Linked DNA regions of Homo sapiens: regions 1, 2 and 3 are each linked to region 4. Evidence: promoter capture Hi-C in 16 types of primary human blood cells and fetal thymus (Javierre and others, 2016). All regions are on one chromosome and are shown on one strand. The core of a region is centred on a gene start or on the middle of the fragment in contact, and the rest is flanking DNA. Distances in the headings are between cores, read along the strand shown. Region 1 overlaps UGGT1 (UDP-glucose glycoprotein glucosyltransferase 1). Region 2 overlaps UGGT1 (UDP-glucose glycoprotein glucosyltransferase 1). Region 3 overlaps UGGT1 (UDP-glucose glycoprotein glucosyltransferase 1). Region 4 holds the start of FAM168B (family with sequence similarity 168 member B).

Region 1 (3,519 bases), core at 872-3,371, 3.0 Mb before region 4:
TCTTGTCATCTGTCAGAGAATGTGGGGAATAGGGCTGGGCTTGGTGGCTCGTGCCTGTAATCCCAGCACTTTGGGAGGCCAAGGCGGGTGGATCACCTAAGGTCAGGAGATTGAGACCAGCCTGGCCAACATGGTGAAACCCCGTCTGTACTCAAAATACAAAAATTAGCCGGGTGTGGTGGCACACACCTCCTAATCTTAGCTATTCGGGAGGCTGAGGCAGGAGAATTGCTTCAACCTGGGGGTGGAGGTTACAGGTAGCTGAGATCACGCCACTGCGCTCCAGTCTGGGTGACAGAGCAAGACTCCGTCACAAAAAAAAAAAAAAAAATAGAGAATGTGGGGAATAGTGCCATCTTGGGCAGTTGTGGTAAAAAATAAGGTGAGTGGAGAGCTGATCTTATTTTTTCTTGGTTTCTGTACTGCATTCATTTTAGAAAAATTTTATTTAAGAGAAATAATGTAGAATGTAGATAATCATTACTTGAATTCATACTTGGTGATATAACTTATTTTGATGAAGACATTGTTAATGTCATTTGCTTTTCTGTTAAAAGTACTTATAAAGAGTAAAAGATAATAACATCAACATGACATGTTTATGCAAACATAAAGGGACTAACAACCATAGGACCCATCATCATGCTTACTAAATGTTAACATTTAATCATTTTGTGTCAGATTTAACTGTTTTCTTGGGGGAAGAAACAGTTTTAGTTGAAGCCCTTCTTTGTCCCTTACCAACCACCCCTCTCCTTCCTGAAGTTCATATCTTTTCTCAAGTTGGTGTGCATTCCCTTGTCCCTTATTTTATCCTTTTATTTTCTATCAAATATATTTTTCTTTCTTTCTTTTGTTTTTTTAGAGATGAGTCTCACTATGTTGCCCAGGCTGGACTCAAATTCCTGCGGTCAAGCAATCCTCTTGCTTCAGCTTCCTGAATAGCTGGAACCATAGGCATGCACCACCTTACCTGACTCCTATTTAATATTCTAAAAATTTGAGGCCAGGCACAGTGGCTCACGCCTGTAATCCCAGCACTTTGGGAGGCCGAGGTGGGTGGATCATTTGAGGTGAGGAGTTCGCGACCAGCCTGGGCAACATGGTGAAACCCCATCTCTACTAAAAATACAAAAATTAGCTGGGCGTGGTGGTACACACCTGTAATCCCAGCTCCTTGGGAGGCTGAGGCAGGAGAATTGCTTGAATTCGGGAGGCAGAGGTTGCAGTGAGCCGAGATCAAGCCACTGTACTCCAGCCTGGGCGACAGAGTGAGACTCTTGTCTCAAAAAAAAAAAAAAAAAAAAAAAAAATTGGGATAATCCAGTCAGGCGCGGTGGCTCACGCCAGTAATCCCAGCACTTTGGGAGGCCGTGGTGGGCGGATCACTTTAGCTCAGGAGTTGGAGACCTGCCTGGCCAACATGGTGAAACCCTGCTGGAATGCAGGAATGCAATCATAGCTCACCACAGCCTTAAACTCCTGTGTTTGAGAGGTCCTCCTGCCTCAGCCTCCTGAACAATTGCTCTTTGTGGACATGAAGTTGTTTCTGATGTTTTGCTGTTGTAAACACTACTTTAATTAGGCTCTTTTTTCCTCTCTTTTTGTGTATACATGTGAATTTATTTGGGGTAGATATCTGGAACTAGAGTATTGTATTGTGTTGTGTTGTGTTGCATTGTGTTGCATTGCGTTGTGTTGCATTGCAGTCTCGCTCTCTTGCCAGGCTGAAGTGCAGTGGTGTGATCTCAGCTCACTGCAACTTCCGCCTCCCAGGTTCAAACGATTCTCCTGCCTCAGCCTCCCGAGTAGCTGGGACTACAGGCGCACACCACCATGCCCAGCTAATTTTTGTATTTTTAATAGAGATGGGGCTTTCACCATGTTGGCCAGGATGGTCTCAATCTCTTGATCTCATGATCTGCCCACTTTGGCCTCCCAAAGTGCTGGGATTACAGGCGTGAGCCACCACACCCGGCAGTACTGCATTTATTTTAGAAAAATTAGTACTAATATAGTCTTCAACTTTATTAGATCCAGTTCTCTAAAGTGTTTGTCCACATACCAGCATTGCATGAGAGTTCTCTTTGCTCTATATCTTTTCCTATTCTTGGTCTTGACAAACTTTCACTTTTTCTGTCTAGCGAGTATGAAATTTCATTGAGGTCTTAGCTCATAGTTCCTAGATTACAATTGAGGGTGTACACATTTCTTATGTTTATTGCCCATTTGGGTTTCCGCTGTTTATTTTTCATATTCTTTTTTTTTTTCCGATTTTTTTTTACATTTTCTTTTTTCCTTTGTTCTTAAAAAGTTTAGGGCTGGGTGCTGTGGCTCACACCTGTAATCCCAGCACTTTGGGAGGCCGAGGTGGGCGGATCACTTGAGGTCAGGAGTTCAAGACCAGCCTGGCCAACATGGCGAAACCCCACCTCTACTAAAAGTACAAAAATTCACTGGGCGTGTTGGTGGGTGCCTGTAATTCCAGCTACTCGGGGGGCTGAGGCACGAGAATCGTTTGAACCCAGGAGGCAGAGGTTTCAGTGAGCCGAGATTGCTCCACTGCACTTCAGCCTCGTCAATAGAGAGACTTCATCTCAAAAACAAAAACAAACAAACAAAAAAAATTTCGCTTCTTTCTTTTATTTTTATGTCTTCTTCATTCTTGACGCTAGTCCTTTATTGGGTTTGTAGGTTACAAATGTCTTCATCTATTCTGTGGCTTATCTTTTAGTCACTCATTTTTCCACTCGATCTTTGTATCTTTTTTGTTTGTTTTTTTGAGATAGGGTCTTGCTCTGTTGTTCAGGCTGGAGTGCAGTGGCACAATCATGGCTCATTGCAGCCTCGAACCCCTTGGGCTCAGGTGATCATCCCGCCTCAGCCTCCTGAGTGGCTGGGACAGCAGCCACCATGCCTGGCTAATTTTTATATTTTTTTGCAGAGATGGGGGTCTCATAATATTGCCCAGGCTGGTCTTGAACTCCTGGGCTCAAGTGATCCTCCTGCCTTGTCCTTCCAAAGTGCTAGGATTACAGATGTGAGCCACTCACTGCAGCCAATCTTTTTATCTTTGAAAATGGTCTTGTCTCACATGATTCTTCTTAAAATATTTTAAAGTCTTATTGATATTATTGCAGGTTTTACTAACTGGTTCCTAATGTGCATGTATCCTGTTGTGTTATTTTTTGTAGTGGGTCAACAACCTGGAGGTTGATAGCAGATATAATTCGTGGCCTTCTAGTTTACAAGAGTTGCTTCGACCCACCTTTCCTGGTGTTATTCGGCAGATCAGGAAAAACTTACATAATATGGTAAGTAAAACTTATTGTCTGGCTGTGAACTCTGTTTCTCCCTTGCCTAGTCCCTCTTTTTTTGTCATGTAGAATGGTCACTTCTCACCTTTACTAGCTGCTTCCTCCCCCACCCTTCACCAAATACTCTTCCCTGTTCACACTGGAAAGGCTTTGTAGTGTACTGACCACTTGTGGGGCTGTGGGATGTAACAGGAGCATTACA
Region 2 (3,449 bases), core at 635-3,134, 2.9 Mb before region 4:
TTTTACATGCTAACAGATGCCCAGACCAGTGCATTAATCAGTAGAATTAATCAGTGCATGTTCCTAGTCTGTAACTAAACTCTGTGGAAGATTCCCCTGCTTTCCTATAGTAAAGGTTTACGACTTTTTCTTCTATCTTTATTAAGCTTGTCATTTTCTTCTTTTTGCATGGTTCTTACAAATTATTTGGTCAATTTCATTTTCAGAATGTTGAAACACAGAATGTGCTTCTCTCCTCTGACTCAATTAGCTGTTTTTGTTTTTCTACAGATGATTCTTTTATTAGGCCAGTAACTTTTTGGATTGTTGGGGATTTTGATAGCCCTTCTGGACGGCAGTTACTGTATGATGCCATCAAACATCAGGCAAGTATCTATGACTTCATTTTATATTTTTGTTTGTGGCTGTAGTTGTCTTCATGGGCTTCGCTGTGCGGCTAGGATTGTTCAGTGGGAGTTGGGAGTCCTGCTTTCTTAATGCTCGAGGGAACGGAGAATTGTATCTCTAGAGATCTGCCAGCTCTCAAGAAAAGAGATCTAAGACTACAGTATCCAGGCTTTGTTGAACGGGATAGATTCTTATAGAGAAAAAAATAAATAGCGAGATCCTCATCATAGACAAGTTTTATTGCATACCTGTTCATGTTCTTGGAGCAGAGTTGCTCCAACAATTGTGTTGTGTACTGTATCGGGGAGATGGGGTCCTTACCACGACAGAGGTCTGGACATGGGGGCAGTAGCACACAGGAATGGTAGTGTGTGTGTTTAGTAGAAGTAGATCCAGATGCACTGAGGGATACACACATAGGTGTTCTGAAAAGATATGCTGCCATTAATAGTTGGGCTTGAGTGAGTGGCAATGGCAGGTGGTTGGGAAGCAGCTGATTCTTCTGGAGAGTGTCATCGTTAGAGGATGAGATGTCAAAATTCTTTTTCCTGGGCTGTTTCAGTTTGCATCTTCATCCATACCTCACAACCCTCCTCATGGTCCCCTTTCCACCCTGTACCTGGGAAGGTTTACTGAAATAAAGAAATATCCAGGTGGTTTCAGTTTTACTCATATGCCGAGTTCCTTTATTGTTCAAGGAGTGGACCAAATGCTGTGGTCAATTTGAAGTTAGAACAGGGCAGTTCTAGCTAAGGGCGATAGTTATATGTGAAAGGCACTCTAACACAAATGCGTAAATCTTCAAATGGTAGTAGGGTAGGAGAATGGGGAAGGAGAGTTGCATTTTTTAATAACTATTTTAATTGAAGTAAAATGTAGGTTCACAAGAAGTGCTCAAATCATAGGACACACAGTGTCACAAAGAGAACACACTCTTGTGACCACCACTCAGGTCAAAAAATAGAGAATTCTCAAGTTCCTGAAAGCCCTCCCACACTTGTGCCCACCCACACTTGTGCCCAGACACTACGCCTCTTCCCTCTTCTCATATTAGGGAATAGGTTTGCCTATCTTTTAGTTTATTAAAATGGAATGTTATGCAATTTCATTTGTGTTTGGTTTCTTTACCCAATCTTTTGTAAGATTTATTCATGATGTTACAAGTAGGGGTATAGAGTCCTTTTTCATTCTGTAGTATTATATCATATGGCTGTACCACAAAGTTTTATTTGTTTAAGCTATTTGAAGGACAGTTGGGTTTTTAGCTTGGTGCTATTATAAGACTGCTGCAATGAATATTCTCGTATGTCTTTTGGTACACCCAAATATAAATGTCTGTTGCTTATGTTATTGGTACAAGCCCTTTTTTGGCTTTGTGTGTCCTGGGTGTATTCTTCCACTTGGATTCTTGTCTTTTCACCCAGGGAGAGATTGAATTGTACTAGGAATGTGGGAAGGCTGTATGAATGAAGAAGGGTTTGAGGAGAGCACTGAAAACACTTCTAAAACAAGTGCGTTAGAAGAATACAAAATGTGTGGCATAAGAATATAAACTGTGTTGGGTAAAGATAGGACTCTGAGGGTCTGTAATTTATGCTATATTTACCGGGAAGGTAAGAAATGAAGTTGGAAAGGTGGGCTGGGGGCCACTTCATGTAGGGTTTTGAATGCTTGATGATGGCATTTTTAATTTTATTTTGAATGAGGAGGAGAACTATCTGAGACTTTTTTTTTTTTTTTTTTTTTAATGAGACGGAGTCTTACTCTGTCATCCAGGCTGGAGTGCAGTGGTGTGATCTTGGCTCAGTGCAACCTCCACCTCCCGAGTTCAAGCGATTCTCCTGCCACAGCCTTGCGAGTAGCTGGAATTACAGGCGCCCACCACCATGCCTGGCTAATCTTTTGTATTTTTAGTAGAGACAGAGTTTCACTCTGTTGGCCAGGCTGGTCTCGAACTCCTGATCTCGTGGTCCGCCCGCTTTGGCTTTCCAAAGTGCTGGGATTACAGGCATGAGCCACTGCGCCCGGCCTGAGACTTTTAAGAGAGATATTATTTGCTACTTATTGAACATGACTGATGTTAATGCTGCTTTTTAAGTTCAAAAATATCTACAATATGACTCCCGTTTCCCATTTTGTGAACAGAAATCCAGTAACAATGTTAGAATAAGCATGATCAATAATCCTGCCAAAGAGATAAGCTATGAGAACACTCAGATCTCCAGAGCAATCTGGGCAGCTCTCCAAACTCAGACTTCCAACGCTGCTAAGAACTTCATCACCAAAATGGCCAAGGAGGGGGCTGCAGAGGCCCTGGCTGCAGGAGCTGACATTGCGGAGTTCTCTGTTGGGGTAAGGCTCTGAGCCTCTCATGAGGCTGCCCCATTTTGTCTGCCACGGAAGCTCACCCACTGCAGCTTACGTGTCCGGTTCATGATCACGATTTGTCATTTTAGTCCTGAGTCTCAGGGAATTTTTTTTTTTAATTTGGAAGTTTCCCTTTATTACTTTTAACCTTGCCTAGCTTTCATGTGGTGCATGATTTGAGTTTTTGTGTGTTTTAAGTATGGAGCCATTTGTTATGCACAGTTTTTAAGAGAGACAATATGGCTTATTTATAGAGCAAAAAACGGAGATTTGAACCACTTATAGGTTCAAGGCTTATATGTTCTTGATGTGTTTCCAGAATAAGCCTGTGTTTATTCATTTATATTTTATGTTACTTATTTTTTTGACACAGTTTTGTAGTTTTTAAATTTTTTACAGAATGATGAGTATATACTATTTGACGTTTGAGTTAGGAAAACAGGCTGTCACTGGAAATTAGCAGGATTTAAAAATGCAGAGTAAAGGAATGATGAATAGTCTGCTAGTCGAACAAATCACAGGAAAAGATAAGGAAATAGCAGTTACTCTAAGTAGTAGGGAGATGGCGGGGAGACTGGAGAATTGACACATCTTAATGTTAATTATGAAAATTAGTTATTACTTTCCAGGGAAAGAAATTTTTATGGTTTATTCACTGTGTTTATTTGTTTATATGGTTTGCTTAGTAACGACTA
Region 3 (3,510 bases), core at 131-2,630, 3.0 Mb before region 4:
ATCTTGTGGGCATTCATTCTGGTTGTTTGTAGTTTTTTTTGTGTTGTAGATTAAAAACTTGTCCTGGATTATGGCATTTCAAAACATTTATATATGGAGAGAATGGTATAATGTACTCTCTCTGTACCCATCATCCTGTTTTAACAATTATCAATTTAAGTACAATAACCACCATCACCACCCCCTTCTCTCCTCCCGCACTAGAATATTTTAAAGCAAATCCCAGACATCATATAGTTTGTAAAATCATAATTTTTTTTTTTTTTGGGATGGAGTTTCACTCTTGTTGCCCAGGCTGGAGTGCAATGGCACGATCTTGGCTCACTGCAACCTCCACCTCCTGGGTTCAAGCGATTCTCCTGCCTCAGCCTCCTGAGTAGCTGAGACTACAGGCGCCCGCCACCACCCTCGACTAATTTTTTGTATTTTTAGTAGAGATGGGGTTTCACCATGTTGGCCAGGCTGGTCTGGAACTCCTGACCTCAGGTGGTCCACCCACCTCAGCCTCCCAAAGTGCTGGGATTACAGGCGTGAGCCACGGCGCCTGGCCTGTAAAATCATAATTTATGCTCAGTGGAATAAGTATTATATAAGAAGCTAAAAAAACAAAAAGCAACAAAAATATGCTGTAAAAAAAGGCAGCATTTCTTTAATAATATCTTGTATTGTTATTCTCTCCTCTGGGTTGTTTCAGTGGATCTAGTAAGTAATATTAGGACTGTTCCAAGTTTAGACCTTGTAAGACCTTATGTATGCAGTGGGGTGAAAAGAATGTATGTTTCAAGAAGTTTCCCTGTAATTGTATGAAAAGCATGTATTTATTCGTGTGTGGCCTTTACTGGGAGAGTCTTAGTCTGATTGAATCTTAGTTCTCACCACACTGGTGAGTGTGTCACCTTGCCCCTCTCTGCTTATCTTGTGAATGTGCCTTTAATTAATTAATTTAGTGTTTATTTGCACATCCTGATGTATCTGTCTTAGGACTTGTTTTCTTAGACTATAAGCTATGCCAAGCTTGGTGTGGTGTCTATGTCAGTTACTAGAAAGCCTAGAAAAATACTACTTTCAAGGAGGCATTGAGAAATTTAATATATTATGATAATGGGTATTTTCAGAAACCTATTTTTAGAGAAGCTGTGCATTACCAGGAAATGTTTCTTATTTTTCCCATATTTCTGTGTCTAGCTGTGGAGTAGAGTGAGATTGTACACCCCAGTGTTCACAAGTAATGGGAAAGTCTTCCTTTGGCTAGGTAAGCTGAGATCCAGATCTGTAGTTTGCTTTAAGACAGTGAAAGATCACCACTGCATTAGTATTATGGCTCAGAGGAGAAGATAAGCAATTGACATGAATCATTCAATTACTACGTGCATTTCCTCGTAGGGGTTTTAGACTCTTGAATGAAGGGAAATTTAGACTGGCCATTATTTTAGTAGGATAAAGTCGAAAAAAATTAAGATGGCATTAAGTTCTTGGATCTGATTTTGTTAGATCAGTGCTAATTTTAAACTAAGTTTGGTGATCTTGAAAATTTGGATTTAAGAGTGTTAAAAGATTACAACATGCTGCCTTTATTCTCAGAAATTTTTCTACGGTTCATATTTTACTGTGGGAGAACTTTAGGCAAAACATATTTTTTGTTCTTTGTAAGGCCTTTCAGAAAATAAGTAAGCAGAACTAGTACTAGAATCATCAGTTCCTAATTCTTCTTCCACTACTCATAGTATTTTTGTCAATGGGGTTTCATAAGCTTTCTTTATATTGAGACTTCCCTTTTATGTTTTTATTATTCCAGGTTTCTTAAGAAATAGCTATTAAGTGAAAAAATTCATAGGCTAAGTTATTAATAACTAATAAGATAGGACTTGATTATCATTAAAAATATATATATTATACATAAAAGAGTATTATATATTATAGATTAAAAGTCAAACTATGGACATTTGGAAACTTCAAAACTTATTTTTACTCTCTTTAGTAATATAGTTTATATTAGAAAATTTTATTAAGTTGTTTTATTTCTGATCTTTTCTCCCAGTGAGTTTTTAGCAGAAGACAGTCAAGAGAAATTTTGGAATTTTGTAGAAGCCAGTCAAAATATTGGATCATCAGATCATGACGGTAAAATTGAAGCAAATGCTTCTTTGACTTTGGTGTCTGGGAAAATATTAGGAAAAAATTGTCTCTTTATAGTATGTGTGGCATGGCAGTTAATGGAAAACATTGTTGTCTTTAATGACTGGAGTTATGATGGTGGTCAGGAAGAGCCAACACAACACAAATTATTATTTTTGAAGCAATGTATACCTTTGGCTATAAGTGGTACCTTTGTTTTTTTCCCCTCTTGTTTTTGTTCTATCGTGATCCTTTATTAAAGTGCTATGTGAATATTTTGTGGAAGTACATTTCATTTTAAATCATTCAGTATTAATAACCATCTAATCTGATTCACTATTTTTGTTATGAACTACACAACTGAGCTATTATCTGTTAAGTTCATTATCATTAAGTTAGTATCATCCAGAGTGTTTTCCATTATGCCTGCCAGCCACCCACAACTTGAGTGTTAAGGTATCAAATGAATGATTATCCTGTAAAACCTCATTTGCAGTTTTTATGATGTGCTTTCACATTTTTTAAACTTCGTATAAGCTATATAGGGTGTAAACATTAATAGTTGGAGATGCTGATATGTGAGTAGTTAAAACCTTGAATATTAATTTACATTGACAGATATAGGTTATTATTATTTTTTTTTAATTTTTATTTTTTGAGATGAAGTCTTGCTTTGTTTCCAGGCTGGAGTGCAGTGGTACGATCTGGGCTCACTGCAACCTCCATCTCCCAGGTTCAATCATTTCTCCTGACTCAGCCTTGCAAGTAGCTGGGATTACAGGCATTCGCCACTACGCCTGGCTAATTTTTGTATTTTTAGTAGAGATGGGGTTTCCCCATGTTGGCCAGGCTGGTCTCGAACTTTTGACCTCAAGTGATCCACCCGCCTCAGCCTCCCAAAGTGCTGGGATTACAGGCATGAGCCACTGTGCCTGGCCAGATATAAGTTCTTACAGAAGAGGAAATGTTTCAAAATTGTGTGACTGCTGCTGATGTTAATGGGTTGTTTTTTTTTTCTTCTTTTAAAATTATTTAATTATTATTTTTTTAATACAACGGAGATGAGGTCTCACTGTGTTGCCCAGGCTGGTCTCAAACTTCTGGGCTCAAGTGATCCTCCCACCTCGGCCTCCTAAAGTTCTGGGATTACAGGCATGAACCACTGCACCTGGCCTGTATTGATTTTTTTAACTTTTTAATTTTTATTAAAATAATTCATATTTTAAAAATTGTCTGAATCTTTTTGTTTTATTTTTATTTTATTTCACTTTTTTCACTCTGTGATCTAGCCAAAGATTTATTTTATTTATTATTATTTTTTATTTGGGCTAATTAAAAAAATTTTTTTTTGTGGAGACAGGGTCTCGCTGTGTTGCCCAGGCTGGTCTCAGACTC
Region 4 (3,567 bases), core at 158-2,657:
AGACTGACGTGAATCCGGGAGGCGGAGCTTGCAGTGAGCCGAGATGGCGCCACTGCACTCCAGTCTGGGAAACAGAGGGAGACTCCGTCTCAAAAAAAAAAAAAAAAGTGCTCAATTGATCCAGGAAAAGAAACTGTCTAAGACAACTTGGGTATAATTTCCCTTTAAACTACGGAACTCCACCAAAGTAAGCCTGCTTTGTAAAGACAAAGAGAAGCAAGATCTTCACAATTTCTGCAACACTAGCTTCAAAATTAGAATAGCCTTACACTGCTCAAATCTTGGCTGTCAAAGCAAAAATAACCCACTCCTTCATCTACAAGAGCTTAAAAATGTGTCCTGTTTTTGCCAAAACCAAAAAGTTTTATTTAATCTAGAATCTTTCATCCATAGTATTTGAGAAAAGTGATCTCAAATTACACAAGGATGACCTGAAAGTTTAAGGAGTGGAAACTATATAAACCTTTTTATTTATAAAGCTTCCTTGCATGCGAAAACACTGCAAAATATTCTTGTTTGACTTTAATGATTAAACATTAACTCAAACAGCCCATGAGATGCACACTTCATGTTCACATACACTATAAAACAGAAATACCCTTATTTGTGGACGTCGTAAAGGCGCACTGCACTCTTTTTTCAAAGTTAACCCAGGCTAGGCCACGAAACGTCCTTTCTGAAGGAAATCTTAAAAATCTGTAATTTAAATCGTGCCTTTTCAAGCTGGAAGGAGAACGCTCAGATTCCGCCAAGCAAAAAAATAAAAATAAAAATTATCTTTACTTCGTGGGTAGACAAAGTGAGCAGTTACACATTGGAAATGACTATTGTCACAAAGCTCTGCCCCCGGGTTTCACGCTCGCATTCCTGACGGCTGTGACCCCGACCTTTAGGAGAACGCCCCGCGCCGCGAAGCCACCTCGGCCACCTAGGCGGCAGGCCCGCGCCGCCCGGACCGCACCTGCACGCGTACGTGTCCGGCCGAGCTCCGCCCCCGGCCCCCGCCCGGCCTTGCCCGCGGCACAAAGCGCAGCCCAGGCCGGTCCAGACGCCCAGCGACCCCGAGCCGCGGGCCGACCTTGGCGCCGCCCCGAGCCGGCCGCACAAAGCGCCGCACTTCCGGCCTGGACGCGCAGTCGCCCGCTGCCCGCCCCCACTCACCGCGCCGCGGCGGCGACCTGGGCCTCAGTGACCAGCGCACGCCGGCCCGCGGCGGGCTTGGCCGTGGGGCGAAACAAGGGGGGCGTGCCGAGGAGACCTGCTACGATAAGAGGCTGACCCTCCGAGCCCCGCGTCTCCGCCGCCTCCCGGACGCCGCGCTCCCGCTCGCTCGGCTCCGCTTGGCCCGGCCCGCCTCTCCGCAGCCCGCGCTCCCCGCCGACGCTGCGCAGCCACCGGAGCCGCCGACCTCACTTCCGCCTGAGCGCGCCGCGACGGGGGCGCGCCGGGCACGTGACTGCGCAGCGTGCTCGCTCCCGCCGGCGCCCTCGAGACGCCCGGATGGACGAGCGCGAGCGCGAGCGCGGAGTGGGCCGGTCCCAGTTGGCGAAAGGGCCGGGTGTAGCTGTAGTTTTTTTATTAACTGTCTGTGAAAAAAGTATTTAATTTATATTTTGAGATAGTCCCGCGCCGCAGAAACCTTTGTGTGTGCCCAGACGCCAGGGCGCGGATCCTCAGGCCGCACCCGGGAGTCGAGCACACCCCGGGTGACCGCCACTACGGGGTCGGAGCGGGGCGGAGCTCAGCTCACAGATTCTTTGCCAGTGCGGAGGCTGCGGGCGCCCGCTCAGGAGTGCAGATTTTAGAGAATGCAAGTCAGCGTTTCAAGTGTAGAAGTGCGGGATCATTTCTATAGACAAGAGTTCAGGGAAGTGTACTAGAATGTTAGGGGGTTTTTTGGTTTTTTTTTGAGACGGAGTTTCGCTCTTGTCACCCAGGCTGGAGTACAATGGCGCGATCTTGGCTCACTGCAACCTCCGCTTCCCGGGTTCAAGCGATTCTCCTGCCTCAGCCTCCTGAGTAATTGAGATTCCAGGCGCCCGCCACCACACCTGGCTAATTTTTGTGTTAGTAGAGACGGGGGTTTCACCATGTTGGTCAGGCTAGTCTCGAACCCGTGACCTCAGGTGATCCACCCACGTTGGCCTCCCAAAGTGCTGGGATTACAAGTGTGAGCCACCGCACCCGGCCAAATGTTAGTATTTTTATGTAAGGCTTAGTGTATAGTTACAATGATTTGGTTAGTTCAGGGTGTCTCTCTGGGGGAGGTATGTTTATTATTTCGTATTAAAGAGGTGCGTGTCTTGGTGTTTGTGTTTGGGGTGTCGTCTGGTCTGAGCTAGGTACAGGACGACAAAGGAGGGAGTTATTGCAATAAAGATTAGTGATGGAAGGGAGGAGGCCTGGCTCTGGTCTTTTTTCAGTCGTTTATGAAATAAAAACAGATGGGCGCGGTGTCTCACGCCTTTAATCCCGGCACTTATAGGAGGCCGAGGCGGGCAGATCACGAGGTCAGGAGTTCAAGACCAGCCTGGCCAACATAGTGAAACCGCGTCTCTACTAAAAATACAAAAATTAGCTGCGCGTGGTGGCGCACATCTGTAACCTTAGCTGCTCTGGAGGCTGAGGCAGGAGAATCTCTTGAACCCGGGAGGCGGAGGTTGCAGTGAGCCGAGATCGGGCCACTGCACTCCAGCCTGGGCGACAGAGGAAGACTCCGTCTCAAAAAAAAAAATAAAAATAAAATATAAATGTGATAAAAGGACAAGAAGAAAACATGGGGAAATTCCTTTTTAGTATTGGAGTAAAGAAGGCTTTTCTACATTATTACTTGAAATCCAGAAGTCATGACTATGAAAAGCTTTGGTCGGCAAAAAGCACCATAAGCAAAGTCAAAAGATAAATGATTAACAAGGAAGAAATAGTCCCAACACATGTAATAGACAAAGCTAATCTCTTTAATATTCCAAAAGCTTCCAGAAGTCAACAATAAAAAGCCCTACCACCCAATAGAAAAAGGAGAGTTCACAGCAAAGGACTAAGTCTGGCTGTTAGTCATATGAAAAATATCCAATCTCACTTCTATAAAGAAAAATGCAAGTTAAAACTCTTTGAGGTAGCAGTTTTCACTGTGATTGGCAAACATCCAAAAAATTGACAATGCTATTGGTAAGGCTGCCAGGAAGCTCGCACTCTCAGACATTGCTGGATGGGAAAGGGGATCGTCTGATGATGTGTGTCAAAATAAACGCACAAACAATGTTTCATTCAACAGCTGCACTTCTGGGAGTTTGCCTACAGAGATACTTATAGATGTGTGAAATAAAATGAGTTCACACCTATTAATTGCAGCATTGTGCATAGTAGCAAAATACTGGAAACAAACCCTAGTGTCCACACCTAGGGAAATGACTGAGTAAACTCTGGTTCATCATGCAGTGAAATAGCCTATAACTTGAAAAAGAAATGGGGAAACTTTGTATGTACTGAAATGAAAATATCTCCAAGGTAGACTATTCAATGAAAAAAAACCAAGGTATGGAACTCTGTGTAAGAATAGTATGTAAA

The links. The method cuts DNA at HindIII sites, captures the fragments that hold promoters and counts their contacts. A CHiCAGO score of 5 or more calls a contact.
Region 1: a fragment that was not itself captured here is called in contact with the fragment with the promoter of FAM168B in region 4 in 2 of 17 cell types (monocytes and total CD4 T cells); the score reaches 7.4 in monocytes.
Region 2: a fragment that was not itself captured here is called in contact with the fragment with the promoter of FAM168B in region 4 in 2 of 17 cell types (M2 macrophages and M0 macrophages); the score reaches 6.7 in M2 macrophages.
Region 3: a contact is called between a fragment that was not itself captured here and the fragment with the promoter of FAM168B in region 4, in 2 of 17 cell types (M1 macrophages and M0 macrophages). The highest score is 7.5, in M1 macrophages.

The regions. Positions count from the first base shown.
Region 1 is chr2:128,129,947-128,133,465 of GRCh38, forward strand. UGGT1 (UDP-glucose glycoprotein glucosyltransferase 1) reads left to right here. Exons shown (of 41, transcript NM_020120.4): 14 at 3,195-3,314. Among named protein-coding and RNA genes, the nearest start is that of UGGT1, 41 kb to the left of the region's middle. The HindIII fragment of the contact is 6,166 bases long and covers 1-3,519 here.
Region 2 is chr2:128,156,982-128,160,430 of GRCh38, forward strand. It overlaps UGGT1 (UDP-glucose glycoprotein glucosyltransferase 1), which reads left to right. Exons shown (of 41, transcript NM_020120.4): 22 at 271-365; 23 at 2,533-2,739. Among named protein-coding and RNA genes, the nearest start is that of UGGT1, 68 kb to the left of the region's middle. The HindIII fragment of the contact is 3,480 bases long and covers 145-3,449 here.
Region 3 is chr2:128,101,894-128,105,403 of GRCh38, forward strand. It overlaps UGGT1 (UDP-glucose glycoprotein glucosyltransferase 1), which reads left to right. Exons shown (of 41, transcript NM_020120.4): 3 at 2,039-2,121. Among named protein-coding and RNA genes, the nearest start is that of UGGT1, 12 kb to the left of the region's middle. The HindIII fragment of the contact is 736 bases long and covers 1,013-1,748 here.
Region 4 is chr2:131,092,053-131,095,619 of GRCh38, forward strand. FAM168B (family with sequence similarity 168 member B) reads right to left here and starts at 1,408. Exons shown (of 7, transcript NM_001009993.4): 1 at 1,162-1,408. RefSeq lists a silencer at 862-1,581. The HindIII fragment of the contact is 2,381 bases long and covers 478-2,858 here.